7 separate regions of the Homo sapiens genome follow, and regions 1, 2, 3, 4, 6 and 7 are each linked to region 5. The links are contacts of gene promoters, found by promoter capture Hi-C in human tissues and cell types (Jung and others, 2019). All regions are on one chromosome and are shown on one strand. The core of a region is centred on a gene start or on the middle of the fragment in contact, and the rest is flanking DNA. Distances in the headings are between cores, read along the strand shown.

What was found. Contacts are between HindIII fragments. The study calls those that stand out against the background at their distance.
Region 1: a fragment that was not itself captured here is called in contact with the fragment with the promoter of RAB36 in region 5 in 5 of the 25 tissues and cell types used here (dorsolateral prefrontal cortex, hippocampus, liver and 2 more).
Region 2: a contact is called between a fragment that was not itself captured here and the fragment with the promoter of RAB36 in region 5, in 1 of the 25 tissues and cell types used here (small bowel).
Region 3: a fragment that was not itself captured here is called in contact with the fragment with the promoter of RAB36 in region 5 in 2 of the 25 tissues and cell types used here (bladder and mesenchymal stem cells).
Region 4: a contact is called between a fragment that was not itself captured here and the fragment with the promoter of RAB36 in region 5, in 1 of the 25 tissues and cell types used here (dorsolateral prefrontal cortex).
Region 6: a fragment that was not itself captured here is called in contact with the fragment with the promoter of RAB36 in region 5 in 1 of the 25 tissues and cell types used here (dorsolateral prefrontal cortex).
Region 7: a contact is called between the fragment with the promoter of SLC2A11 here and the fragment with the promoter of RAB36 in region 5, in 2 of the 25 tissues and cell types used here (IMR-90 fibroblasts and dorsolateral prefrontal cortex).

What each region holds. Positions count from the first base shown.
Region 1 is chr22:22,450,773-22,453,761 of GRCh38, reverse strand. It overlaps IGL. Among named protein-coding and RNA genes, the nearest start is that of ZNF280B, 56 kb to the left of the region's middle. The HindIII fragment of the contact is 8,338 bases long and covers 1-2,989 here.
Region 2 is chr22:22,412,340-22,415,039 of GRCh38, reverse strand. It overlaps IGL. Among named protein-coding and RNA genes, the nearest start is that of ZNF280B, 95 kb to the left of the region's middle. The HindIII fragment of the contact is 9,595 bases long and covers 1-2,700 here.
Region 3 is chr22:22,483,333-22,486,314 of GRCh38, reverse strand. It overlaps ZNF280B (zinc finger protein 280B), which reads left to right. Exons shown (of 4, transcript NM_080764.4): 4 at 1-1,894. It also overlaps IGL. Among named protein-coding and RNA genes, the nearest start is that of ZNF280B, 24 kb to the left of the region's middle. The HindIII fragment of the contact is 3,491 bases long and covers 1-2,982 here.
Region 4 is chr22:23,814,946-23,817,794 of GRCh38, reverse strand. SMARCB1 (SWI/SNF related BAF chromatin remodeling complex subunit B1) reads right to left here. Exons shown (of 9, transcript NM_003073.5): 6 at 859-1,025. Among named protein-coding and RNA genes, the nearest start is that of DERL3, 23 kb to the left of the region's middle. RefSeq lists enhancers at 862-1,363, 1,364-1,865. The HindIII fragment of the contact is 6,101 bases long and covers 1-2,849 here.
Region 5 is chr22:23,143,874-23,146,762 of GRCh38, reverse strand. It overlaps RAB36 (RAB36, member RAS oncogene family), which reads right to left and starts at 1,286. Exons shown (of 11, transcript NM_004914.5): 1 at 1,212-1,286; 2 at 78-158. The coding sequence starts at 146. It also overlaps a transcript of RSPH14 not described here. RefSeq lists a silencer at 1,464-1,533. The HindIII fragment of the contact is 15,551 bases long and covers 1-2,889 here.
Region 6 is chr22:23,909,889-23,912,635 of GRCh38, reverse strand. No RefSeq gene overlaps it. Among named protein-coding and RNA genes, the nearest start is that of MIF-AS1, 12 kb to the right of the region's middle. The HindIII fragment of the contact is 3,077 bases long and covers 1-2,747 here.
Region 7 is chr22:23,856,501-23,859,314 of GRCh38, reverse strand. It overlaps SLC2A11 (solute carrier family 2 member 11), which reads right to left and starts at 1,440. Exons shown (of 12, transcript NM_001024939.4): 1 at 1,286-1,440. The coding sequence starts at 1,315. The HindIII fragment of the contact is 17,543 bases long and covers 1-2,814 here.

The sequences.
Region 1 (2,989 bases), core at 85-2,584, 690 kb after region 5:
TTTCTTGCACCCTTTTCCCTGGAGGCTCAATCCCCGCTACTGGAGGTTTCTCGCTCTCCTTTCCCTGCTGAGTGTGCGTGGGGCTCAACCTCTCCTACTAGAGATTTCTTGCACCATTTCCCTGGGGCTCAACCTCTCTTACTAGAGATTTCTTGCACCCTTTACTTTACTCCACACTCACTTTGCACTTAATTGTGCATCTCATTCACACATTTTCAACCTGCAGAATGTCCTGACCACTAAGGAAGTACTTCACTGCCCTAGTGGTTTTTCTTACCTTTGTCTGTGCACAGTTACCTGGTCGCCACGGTAACTGTAGGCCTTTTCTTCCTGTGTTGCTGAGAGTCTGGGTTTATTTATCATGCTGGGTGGGTCCTGATTCCTTACCCCTGAGGCCACTGCAATGAAGCAGTGGGATGCATCTCCTCCTAAGAGGTGATCAGAGGCCCTTCCTCAGAGGAGAATGGGAATCCCAGATGACCCCCTATTTTGTTAGAAACAAGAGCTCAGAGTCGCAAGGAAAATGAGCACTCAGACAAAATATTTCTCAGCAAGGCAAACTTATTTCTACAGAAGAGTGCCGCTTGCACTTCTGACCACTGCAAGAGCACACCAAACAAAGGAGGGAAGGGGTTTTCATCCCTAACGTGGTTAGTCCCTGCTTCTGTGTCCTGTCCCCATTGGCTGGAGTTGGACCACACAATCTAAACTGACCTGATTGGCTACTGTTTAAAATTGAGTATGGCTAATTAGGTGGGAAGGGAGAGGCAGTCCATTATGGTACAAGGTATGTTTGGGCATGTCAGGGCGTGGCAAATGTGGGAAGGGTAGTTTTGTGGGAGGGGCAGTTTACAGAATGGGTAGCAAGGAGTAAAAGAGGACTCTTTCTAAATAAGGAGGAGATGTGAGTTACAGATTGGGACTGGTGGGAGAAGTTGTTTACAGAGCAGGTAGCTTAGGAGAAGGGACAAGGAAGTTCATCTCGAGAACAAAGAACAATGAAGTCAGAAATTAAACCTTTGAAGAGGTACTTACTGTGTCTGACAGATTCACTGGAAATACAGAGAATTCTGGAAATACAGAGAAATACAGATTCTCCTGGAAAGGAGAAGAAGAAGGTGCTGGCTGAGGTGAAAAAACAGAATCAATCAACTTCGGGCTTCTTCAGTTCTAAGCATATCTGAGAGGTTCAAGAAAGAGATAAAAGTATGAGTGTCAACTTCAAGGACAGATGCAGAAAAAATGCCAATGAGTTTCCTGTTATAAAGCCCTTGATAATTAACTCAAGAGATTAGAGGGGAGAAGTGGGTGGTAGCAAAGGGAAAGAGAACAAAGAAGGGAATTCAGGAATCAGAGATGTGGAAGGGGAGAGGGTAAGGATGGGCCACATTATAGGAAAGGCTGAAGGAGGAGCCAGTAAGAGTGTTGGACAGGAGCCAGAGGGAAGGTCAGGTTTGTTGTTTGTTTGCTTTTGTTTTTGCTCTCAAAGAAAGGGGAGCCTTTCCTAGCTTTGCAGCTGTCCTCCCTGGTCATCTCCCTCCATGGAGTGTGGGGTTCTTCTATCATGCAAGCTGGTAAATTCCCTATGTCAGAGATTTCTCCTAGGTTCTTGCCTGCCAAGGATTCTCCTTATTTGATACTAGTCTTATGGATATGTTGTCGTTTTTCTTATTATTATTAGAGACAAGGTCTCACTCTGTTACCCAGGCTCAAGTGCAGTGGCATGATCATAGCTCACTGCAGGTTTGAACTCCTGGGCTGAAGCTCTCCTCCTGCCTCAGCCTCCTTAGTACTTAGGGCTACAAGCATACAGCACTATGCCTGGCTAATTCATTTTTTATTATTTAAAAAAAACTATAGAGAAAATATCTTGCTATGTTGCTCTTGGCTGGTTTCAAACTCCTGGCTTCGAGTAATCTTTTTGCCTCAGCTTCCCAAAGTGCTAAGATTACACATATGAGCCTCCACTGCTGGCTGGACTTGTTATTATTCAAATATATATGTGGATTTTGTGTGGCAGGCACATGTGAGAAATGCAGAGATTGTGTCCTCACTCCAGACCCACTGAATAAGAATCTGCATTTTATAAAATCCCCAGATAATTTGTATGCACAATAGAGTTTGGGAAGTACTGTTCTAACACATGCATGGAGACATTGACGTAGTTTTCAATATAAGTTGTTCCTCGTACCTGAATCTATTATGCTCCAGCAAACATGAGCAGGAAATTCTTGTTTCTCTATTTTCTGCATTGTGAAGTCAGGCATAATGTACTCAAGGCTTTCCATAGAAAATTGCAGGCATTTTGTTTGACTTCACTAAATCCACAGAGAAGACCAGGAGCATTTTAATAATAGCCCAATGTCACATCTTTGTCTGACAAGCAATTTGAATTACCCCAAATTATAATTTTTCATTGGTATTCAAATAAAAATAAAATTAGCAACTACTCAAATATTTTACCCTTTCAAATAAATGGAAAACTACTTACATTAACATTAAATGACAGAGCAAAAAGCTGTATAAAACCAGAGGAATGAGCACAAGGTTTGATAACCATTGTGAAAATATTGACAACAAAAATGAGAGAATGCATCCAAATGAAGAAATGTACTTCTATTGATTATCTGGGATAAGGTAGCTTTGCAGAGAACTTGGTGATTTTTAATACTTTCTGATTCCACATAATAGGCATGTATTGCTTTGAAAGTAACTCAATAAAACAAACTTTAGAAATATACAAAAGTAGAGTTTCTTCTCTTTACTCTTAGCTCAGAAACCCCATACTTTGAAGATGCTTCTTTCTGGAGGAAATGCATTTAGCCTCAGCCTTTAGATCTGATCCAGCTGTTAGTGCTCCTTTTAGAATACAAAGCAATAAACTTCTGATTTTTTTTTTGATCCAGTTCTTCCCAGATCATTCTCACATTTCCTTCACTTCAGGGCTTAAGCAGGGATAGGAATCAATTCAGATCCTTTCCTTCCCCTT
Region 2 (2,700 bases), core at 135-2,634, 730 kb after region 5:
AACTGACATGTTCACTTGAGGGTAGCTCTCTTAGAGAAGCTCTGTCTTTGACGTTAAGCACCTAGACCTGGCATCAGGAAGGGCAGGCCTGCCACAGCTCTGCCTCTTTCAAGCTGCGAACCCTGTGTGGAGTTTCCCGATAAAATGCAGGGCACCCAGTTGTTTGTATTACAATTGAACAATACTGTGTGGGTGATACACATACAGATTCTTTATCATTGTTTTTACTGAATTCAAATTTAACTGACCTCCAGTGTTTATATCACATTGGTGCACAAGTCCTTGTGGGTTTTGCCATTACTTTTATTTGTAAAACCTGCAATTACTTGTGCACCAATTTAATATTTGATAAATTTTAGAACCTTACCTCCAGGCCACAAAGCATTACCTCTTCAATCACGGTCTACTGCCTGAAAAGCAATAATAAAGCTATTGTCAGGATTAAATGAGGTCACATCCTCAGGAATTAAAAAGCTGTTGATTGATAGTAAGATTGCAATTGTTCTAAATCTTAATGCAACCTGTCAAAAGCTCTGGGATACAGCAAAAGTGGTGCTTAAAGGACAGTTTATAGCATTAAATACCTACATCAAAAAGTCTGAAAGAGCACAAGTAGAAAATCTAAGGTCACCCCTCACAGAACTGGAGAAACCACAACAATCCAAACCCAAACCCAGGAAAAGAAAAGAAATAATGAAGATCAGAGCAGAACTAAATGAAGTCAAAACAAAAAAAAATACAAAAGATAAATGAAACAAAAAGCTGGTTCTTTGAAAAGATAAATAAAATTGGCAGACCATTAACGAGATTAACCAAGAAAAGAAGAGAGAAGACCCACATAAGCTCAATTAGAAATGAAACGGGAGATATTACTATTGATACCACAGAAATACAAAAGATCATTAAAGGCTACTATGAACTCTTTTATGTACATAAACTAGAAATCTTAAAGGAGATGGATGAACTCCTGGAAATATACAACACTACTAGGTTAAACCAGGAAGATGTAGAAACTCTGAACAGACCAATAACAAGCAGCTAGATTGAAATGGTAATAAAAAAAATTGCAAACAACAAAAAATCCAGGACCAGATGGATTCACAGCTGAATTCTATTAGATATTCAAAGAAGAACTGGTACCAATCCTTCTGACTCTATTCAACAGCATAGAGAAAATGGGAATCCTTTCTAAATCATTCTGTGAAGACAGTATCATTCTGATACCAAAACCAGGGAGGACATAACAAAAATAAACTACAGACCAATATTTCTGATGAATCTAGATGCAAAAATCCTCAACAAAATACTAGCTACCCAAATCCAACAGCTGTCTTAAAGATAATCTACCATGATCAAATTGCTTTTATACCAGAAATGCAGAGATGGTTTAACATCCACAAGTTGATAAATGTGATACACCATATAAACAGAATTAAAACACAAAATCACATGATTATCTTAATAGATGCAGAAAAGGCATCTAACGAAATCCAGCATCCTTTATGATTCAAACTTGGCAAAATCAGCATAGAAGGGACCATACCTTATGGCAACAAAAGCCATCTATGGCAAACCCACAGCCAACATTATACTCAATGGGGAAAAGTTAAAAGCATTTCCCCTGAGAAATGGAACAACAAAAGGATGCCCACTTTCACCACTTCTATTCAACGTAGTACTGGAAGTCTTAGCCAGAGCAATCAGACAAGAGAAAGAAATCAGGGATATCCAAACTGATAAGGAGGAAGTCAAACTGTCACTGTTTGCTGATAATATGATTGTATACATAGAAAACCCTGAAGACTCACCCCAAATGCTTCTAGCACTAGTGAAAGTATTCAGCAAGTTTTAGGATACAAAATTAAAGGACACAAATCAGTAGCAGTGCTATACAACGACAGCAACCAAGCTGAGAATCAAAGCAAGAACTCAACCCCTTTTACAATAGCTGCCAAAAAACTAAAATACTTAGAAATATACCTAACCAAGAAAGTGAAAGACCTCTACCAGGAAAGCTGCAAAACACTGCTGAAAGAAGTCACAGATGACACAAATGGAAATACATTTTATGCTCATGGATGTATAGAATGAATATTGTGAAAATGACCATACTGCCAAAACAATCTACAAGTTTAATACAATTTCCATCAAAATACCACCATCATTCTTCACAGAACTTCATAGAACTAAAATTCATATGAAACCAAGAAAGAGCCCCGGTAGCCAAAACAAGTCTACACAAAAATAACAAATCTGGAAGCATCACATTACCTGACTTCAAACTATGCTATAAAGCCATAATGACCAAAACAGCATGGTACTGGTATAAAAATAGGCACATAGACCGATGTAACAGAATAGAGAATGCAGAAATGAAGCAAAATACTTAGAGTTAACTGATCTTTGACAAAGCAAACAAAAACATAAAGTGGGAAAAGGAGACGCTATTCAACAAATGGTGCTGAGATAATAGGCAAGTCACACGTAGAAGAATGAAAATGGATCTTCATCTCTCATCTTATACAAAACTAACACAAGATTGGTCAAAGACTTAAATCTAAGACATGAAACCTTAGAAATTCTAGAAGAAATTGGCTTAAGCAAAGACTTTATAACCAAGAATCCAAAATGAAATGCATTAAAAACGAAGATAAATAGATGGGACTGAATTAAATGAAATAGCCTCTGCACAGCAAAATA
Region 3 (2,982 bases), core at 140-2,639, 660 kb after region 5:
GACAAAAATAGCCCAGGGTGACTGACTGAATTTAAACCCATAATGGCTTTATATTTTTCTGTGCATATATATCTTACCCTAATTGAACATGTGAAGCTTGCAACTTTATGTCTTGCTTTGGACATGAATGTATTACAGCTTGCAGCTATTCTGTTAAATGTATAGTTTCCCAGTTTTTTGACACTAATGCTGTTTGGGTCTTACCTGACACACACCAGTGTGCAAGAAATGTCTCTCTAATTCAATAAGTTTTAAGACTTAGAGTTAATGTCCTTCATCTGATCTATCCTATCTAATCTGTACTATGGGTGAATCTTTTTCCCTTGCTCTCCCCAGGGGCTGTTTCACAGTATTCTGGAGTACCTTTTGAGTATTGGTTCCTGAACATCAGCAGTCTTGGCTGCCTCTGTGGACTCCCGGAGTTGTCTCCCTGCTTGTGTTCTGGTGCCATCCTTTGTTCCTCCACCCCTGACCAAGGTGCCCAGCAGCCTGTCTTCACCAGTCAAGGAATCCGCCATCTTGGCTGTAGACATACATAGGTCTGGAGAAATCTCTCCCTTTTTCCTTGATTTCTTTTTAAAGGTACCTTATCTCTCCCCACTCCTTTCTTCCCTCCTCAATCTAGTTAAATTTCCTAAGCTTTCACAAAAATCCGGGAAGAGATAATTAAGAGCTTAGCATCCCTCTTAGAGTAGAAGGCAGTACAGATAACAAAGAAGTTGTGAGTATATTATCTACATTTTAGAAAATTTTCTGACTCTAGATCCATAGATTCTGTTGTATTTATTTGCCGGACACTCATTTGATTGATTTGCACCTTGAACACTATACTAGGTCTTTTCAGTTACGTTGCTTGGGTTAAGACACTTTGCTAAAATTACAGCCTGAATCCTTTCTTTAGTTGAAGAAAGGGTATGTGTGTGCAAGTGGGTGTGTGTGTGCCAGTTTTTCTTGTCTCAGGTAGATACTCCCACTGTGTATAAATAGATCTACAGACTTTTCATACTTACCTCCCGTATTCTGTTTCTGTGGTAAAAATATGAAGTGTTTTAGTTGTATGTTGAGTGATTGGTTGGTATTATCAACACTGTTGTTTGCAGTCTCATTAAAGCATGCTCTTAAGGAGTACATATGGTCATTAATTGCCAACTGTAGATTCCAGTGATCTGGCCCCTGCCTACCTCCTTCCTCTCTTTTTCATTCTCTGTCATGCTTCTCCACTGTTTTCCCCAATGATGCACTATTTTGACACACTGGCCTTGCTATTCCTTAAGCAAATCACATTCTTCCCAATCCAAAGACTTTGCACATGCTGTTGTCTTTCTTAGAATGCCCTTCCCCTAGGCCTGCATGGCTTGCTACCTCACTTAATTGTTTGACACTTCCTTTGGTTCATTGAGCTTCAAGGCTCTTAAAATGCCACTGACAATGAGATCTCCCTTTAAAAAAAAAAAAAAACTTCTACTTTTCCTCTTAAAGGCACTTTACTCTCTCCCCACTCTTTTCTTCCTCTTCAAAGTATTTAAATTTCCTAGGTTTTCATGAAAAAGCTGGAAAGCGATCATCATCAAGGGCTTTGCTTCTGTCTTAGAATTGAGCTAGCTTGAGTCAATTTCTGTGCCTGCAACCAAATGAAAATTAATATAGTGAGTTCTTTCAGGAGCTTTCTCTGTTTTTCTATTGATACCTCTATATATTTTTAAGGCAATGTCACTTTGTTTTGTTTACAAATATATTGAATATGTCAAGATTACTATTTTGTTATTGCCCTTTGTGAATTTCCTTGTCTATTTTGCTCGCTTGTTCTTTCAGGTGAAATTTATTATTTTATTAATGTTGCCAAAAATTATAAGTAAAATATCAATTATAGTAATAAAATGTTTTGTGAAAAAAATGCTGTTGCTGTATTGTTTTTCCACCATAAGTAAAATGGGACGTTTGTTTTGTTTTTTGAGACAGAGTCTCGCTCTGTGACCCAGGCTGGAGTATAGTGGCGCGATCCCAGGTCACTGCAATGTCCACCCCCTGAGTTCAAGTGATTCTTCCTAGCAGCTGGTACTATGGGCGTGTGCCACCATGCCCAGCTAATTTTTGTACTTTTCGTAGAGACGAGGTTTCATCGTGTTGGCCAGGCTGGTCTTGAACTCCTAGCCTCAAGTGATCCGCCCACGTTGGTCTCCCAAAGTGCCGGGATTACAGGAGTGAGCCACCATGCCTGGCCTATTTTTAGTTTGTAATTTTTATTTAGTACCACTGTATAATCTTTGCCTTTTTGCCACTTGTGTTCATTTTTAGCCTTATTGCTACCACCAGAACTTTTTTTTTTTTTGAGACAGAGTCTCGCTCTGTCAGCTAGGCTGGAGTGCAGTGGCCCCTGATCTCGGCTCACTGCAAACTCTGCCTCCCGGGTTCACGCCATTCTCCTGCCTCAGCCTCCCAAGTAGCCGGGACTACAGGCGCCCGCCACCACGCCCGGCTAATTTTTTATATTTTTTTTAGAAGAGACGGGGTTTCACCATGTTAGCCAGGATGGTCTCGATCTCCTGACCTCATGATCCACCTGCCTCGGCCTCCCAAAGTGCTGGGATTACAGGCGTGAGCCACCGTGCCCGGCACTACAGCCAGAACTTCTAAACAATATTTAAGATGGAGTTAATGGGCTTCTTTGTTCTTGGCTTTAATAAGAAATGATTTGCCCTTAAAGGTAATAAGTATATTGCTTAAATAATTTCTATTTCCATTTTTGGGGCCAGGTGTGGTGGCGCATGCTTGTAATCTCTGCACTTTGGGAGGCCAAAGCGGGTGGATCACCTGAGGTCAGGAGTTTGTGACCAGCCTAACACGGTGAAACCCCCTCTCTACTAAATACAAAAAAGTTAGCCAGGCATGGTGGCGCATGCCTGTTATCCGAGCTACTTGGGAGGCTGAGACAGAAGAATCGCTTGTACCTGGGAGGCGGAGGTTGCATCCAGCCTGGGAAAC
Region 4 (2,849 bases), core at 96-2,595, 670 kb before region 5:
AAGTTGCTGGTGATTCCCCCACGTTATTTTCCAAAATCTTAGTAAAGTGCCACGGAGAACCACAGTGGGAAGAAGTCGGCCCAGGCTCCATCTGGTGCACGGGGCAGAGGCATCCCTCAGTCACAGGAGGCATCCCTCCCGAGGCTCCTCGACCCCAAAGACTATTTTCAGGAACCCTTTGTAACATGGCTCTTATTTTTATACATCAATGTTTTCCTAAAATGGAAGCCAAAGGCACAGCATCAGATCTAACCAAACCACTGACCTTTTTAGGGTCATCACATGTGCCAATTTCACCTACTTCTCATATCTTCCTATTTTCAAAGCTCCCCTCACCCTCAAGGCATAGTCTGGCAGTGGCGGCTCAGCACAGCAAGGATTATGCTATAGGCTCTGCAGGGTGCAGGCCTGCGCCCAATCGCCAGCCTCACCATTTCTCAACTGGCCAGTTTGCAACTTCCGCAGGTGATCTCAGCTCTCCACGTGCCCACCTCTTCACCTGTAATATGGCCACTAAGGCAGCATCTTATTGGGTTACTAGGCCCCCCTGGAGCACTCAGCCTGGCCCAGCCAATCAGCTGCCTTCACCTCCTCTAGACCTCCGGGCTTTGCTCAGAGCCTGGCAGTGCCTCAGAGACACCCCCTGAATGTGTCCGGAATATAACACTTTACTATGAGAACTCAGCCTATGCCCTTCCTGGGGGATTGCAGGGAGCAAAGCCAGGTGTTATGACTTTCCAGATGATATGGAACCCAAAGACGGGCTTCTGCTGAGGCCTTGGTGTACCCTCAGTGCTCCATGATGACACCCACCCTGAGGGCCAGGAAGGCTCCAGTGCTGGGTGAGAAGTCACCTACCTTGATGATGACGCGCTGGTCTGACTGGTCCTCCAGGATGCTGTCCGTGGGGTAGGACTCGATCTGCTGTCTGATGGCAGAGGCGATGGCTGGCACAAACGTCAGCGGGTTCAAATCCAGATCGTCACAGAGGATTTCTGAAAACATCTCAGGCGTCATCAACTTCTCTGAAATCAGGAGAGGGAAGGGATGCCAAGAGATTGCACCATGCTTGGGCATGGACCGGCCTCCCTCACCCCTTCTTCTTTGAAGCCAAACATCTCCGGATGCAGGAGAGGACAACCAGGGCACTGGGGGTGGCCTTCCTGGAAACTGGGAGTGGAAGGAGGAAGCACATGACTAGCAGGCCCCCAGCCCTCATCCTGCACAGACCTCCTGCTCCATGCCCTGGGGGTGGTCATGGCCATAAACACTTCCCTCATTCCACTCATAGCTGGGTGGGCGCATGAGATTATCCCAACTAATGAGATGATCCAGGCGAGGCCAGCAAAGGCACATCAAAGCTTGCGTGCCATCTCTCTACTCCCCTCTGTGCTGAACTGGTGGCAGACGTGATGGCACAGAGGCTGGCCCAATACCAGGCCTCATGTGAGCAAAACACACTGTGCCAAGCCACAGCGATTTCCAGGCCTGTGACTGCAGTAGCAGCAGCAGGGCCTCAACAAGGTCACAAGCGTGGAGGTCCCTACAGATCCCGGATCCTGGAAAAGGAATTGTACCAGATGGGAGCTCACAGGGACCATCTGTGGCCAGCCAGACCTCAGCAAGGTCCTCTCAGTCAACATTCTCTCCCTGCTCCACCCAGACCGTACTGACAAGACGCCTTGCAGGAATAAGCTGAAAAAGCCAAGAAAAATTGCCTCAGAGCAGACAGTAGGATTCCATCATCAAGAAGCAGGTCGGCCTAACAGACCACAGCCCCACTATCTCCTCCCTGCCCTAAAGACACGCTGGAGACCAGCATCCTAACAGCCTGCGGGGCAGCAACAGCAGGAACCTCAGGTGCACGGGGTAAACACCCAGTGAATACACTGCCCAGAGCATTTTAAAATTTTTAAGTAATTGTAGATTCATGTACAGATGCAAGAAACAACACAGAGAAATTCCATGCACACTGCGCCCAGTTTCCTCCAAAAAAGACAAGATAGAGGACTGTATCTGTATCCAGTGATTCATCCAGATTGTCACTTCCTTTTACTGCCAAGTGACATTCTGTGGTACGAAGGGGCCTCACTTTAACTATTCACTCACTGAAGGCTATCTAGATCATTTCCAGTTTCCCGCTATTATAAATAAAGCTGCTATGAACATCCACGTGTAGGCTATTGTATAAACATGTCTTCATTTCTCCAGGATAAATGCTCAAGGTACACTGGTTGCATGTTTAGTTTTTTGTTTGTTTTGAGACGGAGTCTCGCTCTGTCGCCCAGGATGGAGTGCAGTGGCGCTATATCGGCTCACTGCAAGCTCCGCCTCCCGGGTTCACGCCATTCTCCTGCTTCAGCCTCCCGAGTAGCTGGGACTACAAGCAGCCACCACCACGCCCAGCTAATTTTTTGTATTTTTAGAAGAGACAGGGTTTCACCATGTTAACCAGGATGGTCTCGATCTCCTGACCTCGTGATCCGCCCGCCTCGGCCTCCCAAAGTGCTGGGATTACAGGTGTGAGCCACCACGCCTGGCCGCATGTTTAGTTTTTAACAGAAATTGCCACACTGTTTTCTAGGGCAGTTTTCCAGCCACTTTACATTCCCATCAGCAGCTTGTGAGTGACCCAGTTCCTCCACATCCTCGCCAGCATCTGATGCTGTCACCACTTTTTAAAGATGTGGAATAACAGTGTAATTTTAATCTGCATTTCCCTAAGGCTAACAATGTGGAAAAGCTTTTCAATGTTTATTTGCCACCTATATAACTTCTTTAGTGAAATTTCTCTTCCTGTCTTTTGCCTTTTTTTTTTTTTTTTGAGACGGAGTTTTGCTCTTGTTGCC
Region 5 (2,889 bases), core at 37-2,536:
TAGGCATGAGTGTAGAGTGGGGAGAGCTGATGTGGCTGCAGGGCCAGGAGAGCACTGCAGACGTAATGACTCTCTACCTTAGGGAAGCTGGCGATGACACGGTCGCGGCTCACAGGGGGCCCCAAAGGTGTCAGGGAGGACCTCATTCTTCCACAGTCCTGTGGACCCAACCAGGAGAAAGACAGTTAAGGAGCTGTGCAAATACCTGGGGATTCACCCATGAGTTTCCACCTAACTTTTCATCAGATCCAGGCTGGGTGCAGTGGCTCATGCCTGTAATCCCAGCACTTTGGGAGGCCAAGGTGGGAGGATCACTTGGGCCCAGGAGGTTGAGACCAGCCTGGGCAACAAAGTGAAACCTCAGTCTCTACAAAAAAAAACCAAAAAAATTAGCAGGGCATGGTGGCCTGTGCCTGCAGTCCCAGCTACTTGGGAGGAAGGTGGGAGGAATGCTTGAGCCTGGGAGGTCAAGGGTGCAGTGAACCGTGAAGGTGCCACTGCACTCCAGCCTGGGTGATAGAGTAAGACCTTGTCTCAAGAATTATAAATAAAACCAGATCCAGGCTTCCCTCTCTGTCAGGAATATGGGGCAGAGGCCATTTCTCTCAATCTGCATACAGCAGGCAGCATGGTATGGGGGAACCAGGCCTGCCCCACCCTGCCTGGGAGTCAGAAGACCTGGGTCTCCCCTTGACAGGTGTCTACCAAGGAGGAGCTCCCCTCTGAGCTTACCTTACTGGGCTGTGAGGCATGGCACAGCTCAGGCAGTGGAAGTAGAGTGGGGAGGGGTCTCCTGCTCCCAGTCTGCAAAGGACGAAGGCTCTAGGTGGGCCTGGGGGCCTTAACTTTCAGCCAACTAGGCCTTTTCCCTGAAAACCCTCACTTCACCAGGCCTCTGACTCCTCGAGCCTCCTCAACAGCCCCTCTGTCTCCTTTTTCTGTCCGGACTCCTCTCCAGGCTGGGCTGGGGTGGTCCTGGCGGAGTCCGGTTGTCTTCCCGCATCTGACCTGGCTCTCCTCCACAACCAGCGCGGGCCTGGCCCAGAGTTTGCGCTCCGGAAATGAGGACGCCCCGGGGCCGCAGGCCGCTTTCAAGTTATAGGGGCGGGAAGTGGGCGCGGACGCTGTGCCCTCGCGGCCCTGGCCTCGGGATGTGCCAGCACGGGGTTGGGTGACCGGGAGGGTCGGACAGAGTGGGCGAGCTGACTCACCAGCGATGGCTGTGAAAGCTGGGGCTCCGCGCGGCCTGGTCCGCCTGAGCCAGCGGCGGCGATCACCATGGCAACGAGAGCCACGCGGGACCTGCGGGCTACACGAATCGTCGACGTCGTGGGCGGGGTCTGCGTTGGACTGGCAGCGGCGCGTCCAAGCATCCAGCTTGCACCGGCGATCACCATAGCAACGAGAACCTGCCTGGAGTCTGGGCGGGGCTGGCAGCAGAGAGACTCCTGGACACCCTGGAGAGCCGGAGATCACCATGACAACAAGGGCGGTGCTGGATGGGTGGGCGGTGGGCGGGGCTATGGAGGCCCGGGGGCGGAGCCTGAGCCCTGGGTGGGGCTGACCGTGGAGAGATTCGCGCAGGTTCTGGTGATCAGCTCGGCTGGGAGAGGTTGGGCGGTTATGGCATAAGAGCTCCTGATGTGGTATTGATGTTTAATTGGAGTCAAGCACCCTGCAGCTGCAGAAGATAGACCTGCCTACCATCTACTGACCTTAGTCTGCATAGTTCTGAATCCAGTGCTGTCTGAATATCATATGCCTGGCTTCTAGAGCTCACGGTACAAAATTAATTTCCTTAATAAAAAGCTGACCTGAGTCAGTGATTTCCTCTGAACTAGTTTCGGTTTGGAAAGTTAGCTGTTTTGGGCTAGATGGCCTCTTGTGGCCCTTATAAAACCGTGGAACCAGCTTCGAAGTCCGGGGTTCAGTTTGAGAACCTACTTAATTCAGCTCCTTAACTTTTCTGCATCACAATATGGAAGCCTTGGTACACAGATCTAACTCAGTCATCTTCAATTCAAAGCTAAGTGTGCTGGAGGCTGGTGTTTGATGTCTTTTTTTTTTTTTTTTAAAGAGATGGAGTCTTGCTATGTTGTCCAGGCTGGACTCGAACTCCTAGGCTCAAGGAATCCTCCCGCCTCAGCCTCCCCAGTCCTTGGGACTACAGGCAAGGGCCACCACACCTGGCTCTGTTTAATGTCTTTTAGTGAGTTTCACTGCTAAGGTTGAGGCTTAGGGGGTGAACTTAGGTGAGTTGTTCCACCTTCCGCACCTCAGTTTACTCAACTATAAAATAAACGCAACTATCTATTTCAATGGATCACCTGAGATGGTGAAAGTGCTTTTATACTGTAAAGCTTGATTCAAGTCCATTAACTATTCATTTGTCCTACATGTACTGAAAGCTTCCTGGTATATGCCTAGCACTGGGGAGACAAGGAAAGAGAACGGACATGGTGTCCACCCTCAGGGAAATTGGAGTCCACTGCGGGAAGCAGAGAAGTAAATAGAGAATTAGGGGAAGGGAGTGTGCCAATGGGATTTAGGAGAAGGGAAGATTAAGCTGTGGGGTCACTTACTAATTTGGATTTGGGGATTTGGCAGGAGCTAGAGATCACCCTGAACTCCTCCTTTAGCTGTTTTTTTTTTTTTTTTTTTTTTTTTTTTGAGATGGAGTCTCACTCTGTCGCCCAGGCTGGAGTGCAGTAGTGTGATCTCGGCTCACTGCAATCTCCGCCTCCCGGCTCAAGCGATTCTCCTGCCTCAGCCTCCCGAGTAGCTGGGACCACAGGTGCGCACCAACCATGCTTGGCTAATTTTTAAATTTTTTTAGTAGAGATGGGGTTTTGCCATGTGTGCCAGGCTGGTTTTGAACTCCTGGCCTCA
Region 6 (2,747 bases), core at 64-2,563, 770 kb before region 5:
GTTGGCAGCTTAACAGCAACACAGGTTTATTGCCAGCACAAACCTGTGGAGGGGGGACCAGCTTAGTCTCAGAGCACGAGTCCCACTTACAGACTGGGACATTTACTATAAGGAAGAGGAAAGCAACACGAAGGGTGGCTGGGCAGTCAACAAGGACAGGTTTATTTTAGAAAATAAACTTGAGAGGGGCTTCTGGCCGAGTTAGCTCAGACTAACTTCTGTTACAGACTAAGGATATTTAAGGGTTTTGGAAGGGGTCTTATCGTAGGTTCCGAATGTTTCTGTGTGAGGGAAAGTTTATTGCGGGGTTGGAATGTCTCTGGTCGGAAGGGAGGCTGTCTCGGGGTTGGCATGTTTCTGGTCAGAGGGGTTTATCTTAGGGTTGGAATATTTCTGGTTATGCTGACATTAGCCATTAGGCTGATGTTTTGGGGCTGGATTTAGGCGGCTTTTAATGAAGGGGGAACTTAGAATGGTGGTATTTGTTCAAGATGGCAGTGCTCCTGCTCTGTCAGTTATGGGTCTGGACCGGGGGAGAAGGGGCAGTATAGCTTGCTCCCCTGCAGGATGTTGAAGATGTTCCTTGGGCCCTTCATCCAGCAGGATGTAATAGAGATGTTCCTGTGGTTAGGTGGTTAGGCAGTATTTTTTTATGACCTGAACCCCCATGGAATGTTTTATTCTGACCAGGTTCTGTGAAATGTTGGGAGACATCTGCGGCCATACTGTAAGGCTCTTGTGTTGGTTCGAACCCCGAGAGCTTGCCAGCAAAGAACACAAGGCAGTGTGGAGCAACACGCTGTTTTAATGAGCACCTGGGTGCAGATGGGCTGAGGCCTAAAATGGCGTCAGCCCCAGGTGAGGACGGGGCAGGGGTTTTATAGTCTCCTGTAAACAGGAAGTGTCCCAGTCTGATGTAACTGCTACATGGTACCCAGATGGCCTCTCTCTTGATCTTCAGGGGTACGTGTCTCCTGGCCAGCTCTCTTCCTGCTTCTGCTATCTTGCTGACACACGCTGCTAGCACAAGTGGTCTTGTGCCTTGGGACTGGGCCTGAGAAGGGAGGAGTTATTCATCCCCCCAAACTTTCAGGCCCCGGGGAGAATCTTTCACATACCACCCTGAACACGCCCAATCTCGTCTGATCTCAGAAGCTAAGCAGGGTCTGGCCTGGTTAGTACTTGGATGGGAAATGATCACAGGGAGGCTTACAAAATGGTATAGGATATCTTGTGGTTTAAGCCCATTCCCTCCGGGAAGACCTTGTTGGTTTTCTCCCTACAGAACCTGCTGTGTACAAAATGGTGTAGGATATCTTGGGGTTTAAGCCCATTCCCTGAACCTGCTATGACATTAACTGAACAGCTCCTGGGGGTGCATCCCAATAGGGAAGTTATTGAGCTCCCAATGTTTTCGTGAAGCTGCTTTGTCAACTGTGAAATAATTATTGCCCTGCCCACTCCTGGGGTTGTTAGAGACCCAGTGAGATACTAAAAGTGTGTTTAAAGCATGTAGGGTCTGCAAATGCAATAAAGTGTGGTCAGAAAGCCCAACTCACGTGGCTTTGGGGGCCACTGGTGAGAGAAGAGACTGGAGGCAGCCTGTTGTGGTCAGAGCCTCCTGCTATTGTCAATTTCTCCTCACTGTCCCCTTTACCAGGAAGGCAGTGTCAGTTTGATCAGCTGCCAGTCTGTTTGCCCTCATTCCCCCTGGCCCTGCCCTGAGTCCAGCGACCTGGATTTGAAACCTGCATCTGTCACTTACTAGCTGAGGGATCTTGGGCAAGACATTTCAGCCCTTTTCTGCTTAAATAGAGTTAAGACAGCCTATGAATGAAACTATATAAACCAAGGCATTTCTGACTCCAGTAGGAGGCAGCTGCTGTGAGGGAGAAGCCCTGGCCAGGAATCTGTTATAGTTATTTTGTCACCAACTGGAATGGCCTTGGGACAAAGCACAACAGCTGTCTTGACCTCATCAATAGCCTTGACCTCATCCCTCGTGTCATGCTGTGTCATCTTCAACATCTGTCACTTCCATCAGCCTTAGCATTGGCCTTGGCCTCAGTTTCCTCATGTGTGACTTGAGGATGATGATTCTTATAGGAATCAATAAGCTTGGGATAAAGAAGCTATTGGGTCACATTATACATACTTTAAATGCATTAAGTGGGGTCTGCAGTTCCTAGAGATTAGCAGATTGCATTGCGTGAGAACAGAGCCATAGAGAATGTTTGAGGTCCCATTAATAGCTGATAGGAGGCTGATCAGTAAACACTGGGAGGGGAGGATTGACTCTTGGGTGAAGAGTTGGAGGAGGGTGGAGGATTGAGTCTTGGGTGAAGAGTTGGAGGGTGGAGGATTGAGTCTTGGGTGAAGAGTTGGAGGGTGGAGGATTGAGTGTTGGGTGAATTGAGTCTTGGATGAAGAGTTGGAGGGTGGAGGATTGAGTCTTGGGTGAAGAGTTGATTGGAAAACAAAGCTGAACAGAAAACCAGGGCATCATCAACACTGATGAGTAATTTTTTTTCTCTATAAAATGATTATTTAGATTAAGAAAAGGAATGACAAATTTTGAAAAGCCGACAAACACCACAAACTCCAGAAAAAAAAGAATCCTGACATTTTTACTAAGTGACAGACACACCTTCGCCTTTAAAACACTCTGTCCCCCCCATATTTCTTGGCTGCAGACTCTTTGATCACATTTTCGTGTGACAGTGATTTTGTAATATTTTCTATGGGGA
Region 7 (2,814 bases), core at 191-2,690, 710 kb before region 5:
TGACAGGGGCCCTGGCTGCCCATAGTTCCAATAAGGCCTAAGTAACTTTCTCTAAGGCTGGAAGCCTTAGGAAGAAGCCAGGTGAGAAACCTGGCATCTGGTCCCATTGAGGCCAAATTACAGCTCCACGGGGGCCGCATGGAAGTGAGAGCTCCCTTAAGACAGCAGATGTGAAGGAAGCAGCGAACACAGTGCTTGATGGCAGCTGAGCTCATGTAGCAGGAGATATTGACAGGTCTCTAAGACTACAGGAAATCGTTGAATTCAATGAGATCATGCATGGAGATTGCCTATACCGTGCCTGGTCATGGTAAGCATTCAGACATTAGCTACGATAGGGACCATTAATTCAGCAAACAAAGATTTATTGCCTCCCTATTATGGTCAATAATCCTACTGTTCTAGGTGTTGGGATACAGCAGTGAACAACAGACAAAATCCATGAGCTGTCAGAGCTTTCCTTCCAGCAGAGAAAGACAAGCAATCGCAAAATGAACAAGCAAAATATATAGTACATCAGCTGGTGCTACAGAGACTTAAAGCAGTGAAGGGGCGTAGGAAGTGTTTGGACCAGGTGGTGCTATTTTATTTTATTTTATTTTATTTTTATTTTTTAGAGACAAGGTCTCGCTACGTCGCCCACGCTGGAGTGCAGTGGTGAGATCCTATTAGATCCCTGCAGCTTCGAACTCCTGGGCGATCCTCCCACCTTAGTTGGTGCTATTTTAAATAAGGCTGTCAAGGAATACAAGTGCAAATCAAGACAAAGGAGGTGAGGGAATGTGCCATGCAAATACCTAAAGAAATCAGTCCAGATTGGGAAGGAACCCCTAGAAGCGGTGGGCAGTGCAGTGCGGGCGCTCTCCTCTGGCTGCGCCCTTTCCCTCTGTGAGGCAGGACGTCAGGTCAGAGCTGAGGGAGCATGAGGAGGAAAGAGGCGGGGGTGGGAAACAGTCTCGGGAGGGGGCGAGCAGTCAGGATTGCAGCGCTCGGAGGGCTTACTGCCTCTGAGGTCAGGGCTGATCGGCAGAGGATTTAGCATCTCTGGGGGCTGGGATGCCAGGGTCCAGCAACCTTGCTCTGGCCCACAGGCCGACCCTGGGCGTAAACACCTGCCTATGCACATCTGAGCCTAGCACCTAACGCCACTGTACATACAAGCACGATATTTTTGAACATTTGACGACTTAGTTAAGCCTCCCAGGTGGCTGCACCTGCGCAGTTCACTCAGGTCCGCAATCCCTCATCTGAAACGCCTGGTCTGGGCAAGTATGAGAATTCATACCATTCTAGATCGCAGGAGGGCGTGGAGCATTCGAAAGAGGGGCCTGAGCGGAGGTCTTGCTGTCCCAGGGAGACCCCGGCTGCCATTAGCAAGCGGTGAGCCGGCAGCCTGTGCGCGGAGGGAAGGGCAGCGCGCAGCGCCCAGTGGTGAAAGAGGCGCTAGCGCACGCGCAGTGAGCGTTTGAGAGGAGCAAACCCGTCGAGACGAAGCTGTAGCGCAAGCGCAGTGGGTATTGAGAGCGGCCGCACCAGCTGAGGGTTCGCGCAACGCTAAACGATGGCCGGGACTAAGGCCTGAGACTCAAGCTCAGGCGCAGTGAAGCGCAGAGCCGCTAGAGTGTCGCGGAGGGCGCCTGAGGCGCATGCGCGGACTCAGCGTTTTTAAGAAGGGCTGGGGGTGCTGGGGAGTTCGCCCCAGCGTGTTGGGGGGGAGTCGCCGCCGCGGGGGGGGGGTTTGGGGTCACCGCCGCGGGGTTTGTCGCCGCCGCTGGGAGCTCACCTGCGTCCGAGGCCGTAAGGACGGCTCCAGTTCATCCTCCATCCGCCTCTGCCGCAGCACTGAGGCTGAAAAGCCGCTCACTCCTTACTCGGCTAAGCCCCAAGCTCATCTCTGCAGGCCGGAAGGGAGCTCTGGTCCAAGGTCATCTCGGCCAAGCCCCTGCATTCGCCCTCGCAAGTGCCAGCAAGCGACTCTGGTCGCCGCGCTCCCAAGTCCTCCCCCGAAATTCCGGCTCTGGCCCCTCGTCCCCCTCCTTTGCTACAGTCTCTGGACTAAATGTCTGCGGGTCTCTGTCTCTCGCTGGTCTGACCTCAGCCGCAACCCTGCGCGATTCCCTGCGCCGGTCGCCACTGCCGGCCGCCAGAACCTCGGAGGCCACTGCCCCTGGGCGTTCTCCGGAGGGCCAAGCCCTTGGTTGTGCACATCTATGCACGCCCCACCTACACCCCCCCCCCCCCACACACACACACTTTGGTTCAGGTATCCCCGACCTTTCCCCAGAGGACGGGAAAATTAGGAAAGACCGAAAGATAGACCCACCAGTCTTCGGAGCGCTCTCATCTGTGCGTCCTGGGCAGAGCGAGAGACTTGGCGGAATGCGGGTAGGAGAACCGGTCTCGGGTTGCCGCCAGGGGATCCATTGCGTGAGAGGCAGGTCCGACTTATGCTGGGGGCACTTGGAGTTGAGGAACCACAGAGTCCACTGAACCGGATTAATCTTTTATCCCTCAGGGCTTCTCAGGCCCTGCATGGAGGAATCCAGGAGCTGGACAAAGACCAACTGAAACTAGACTTGCCAAAGATGCTATTTGTGGTCACAGAAACATAGAGCTGGACATGACCTTAAGAAGTCACCTGAGCAGACACTGTGATGGGCACTGTAGTAGCTCTATTGCTCAGACTTGGTTTTTGTTTGACTTTTGCTGCTCTGAACTTTAATTCCTAAAAACACTGCATTTTTAAGGAAAAACACAAAATATTAGCAGTTATAATAAATAGGTATTTTATTGCATGCTTTTCGTGCATCTATT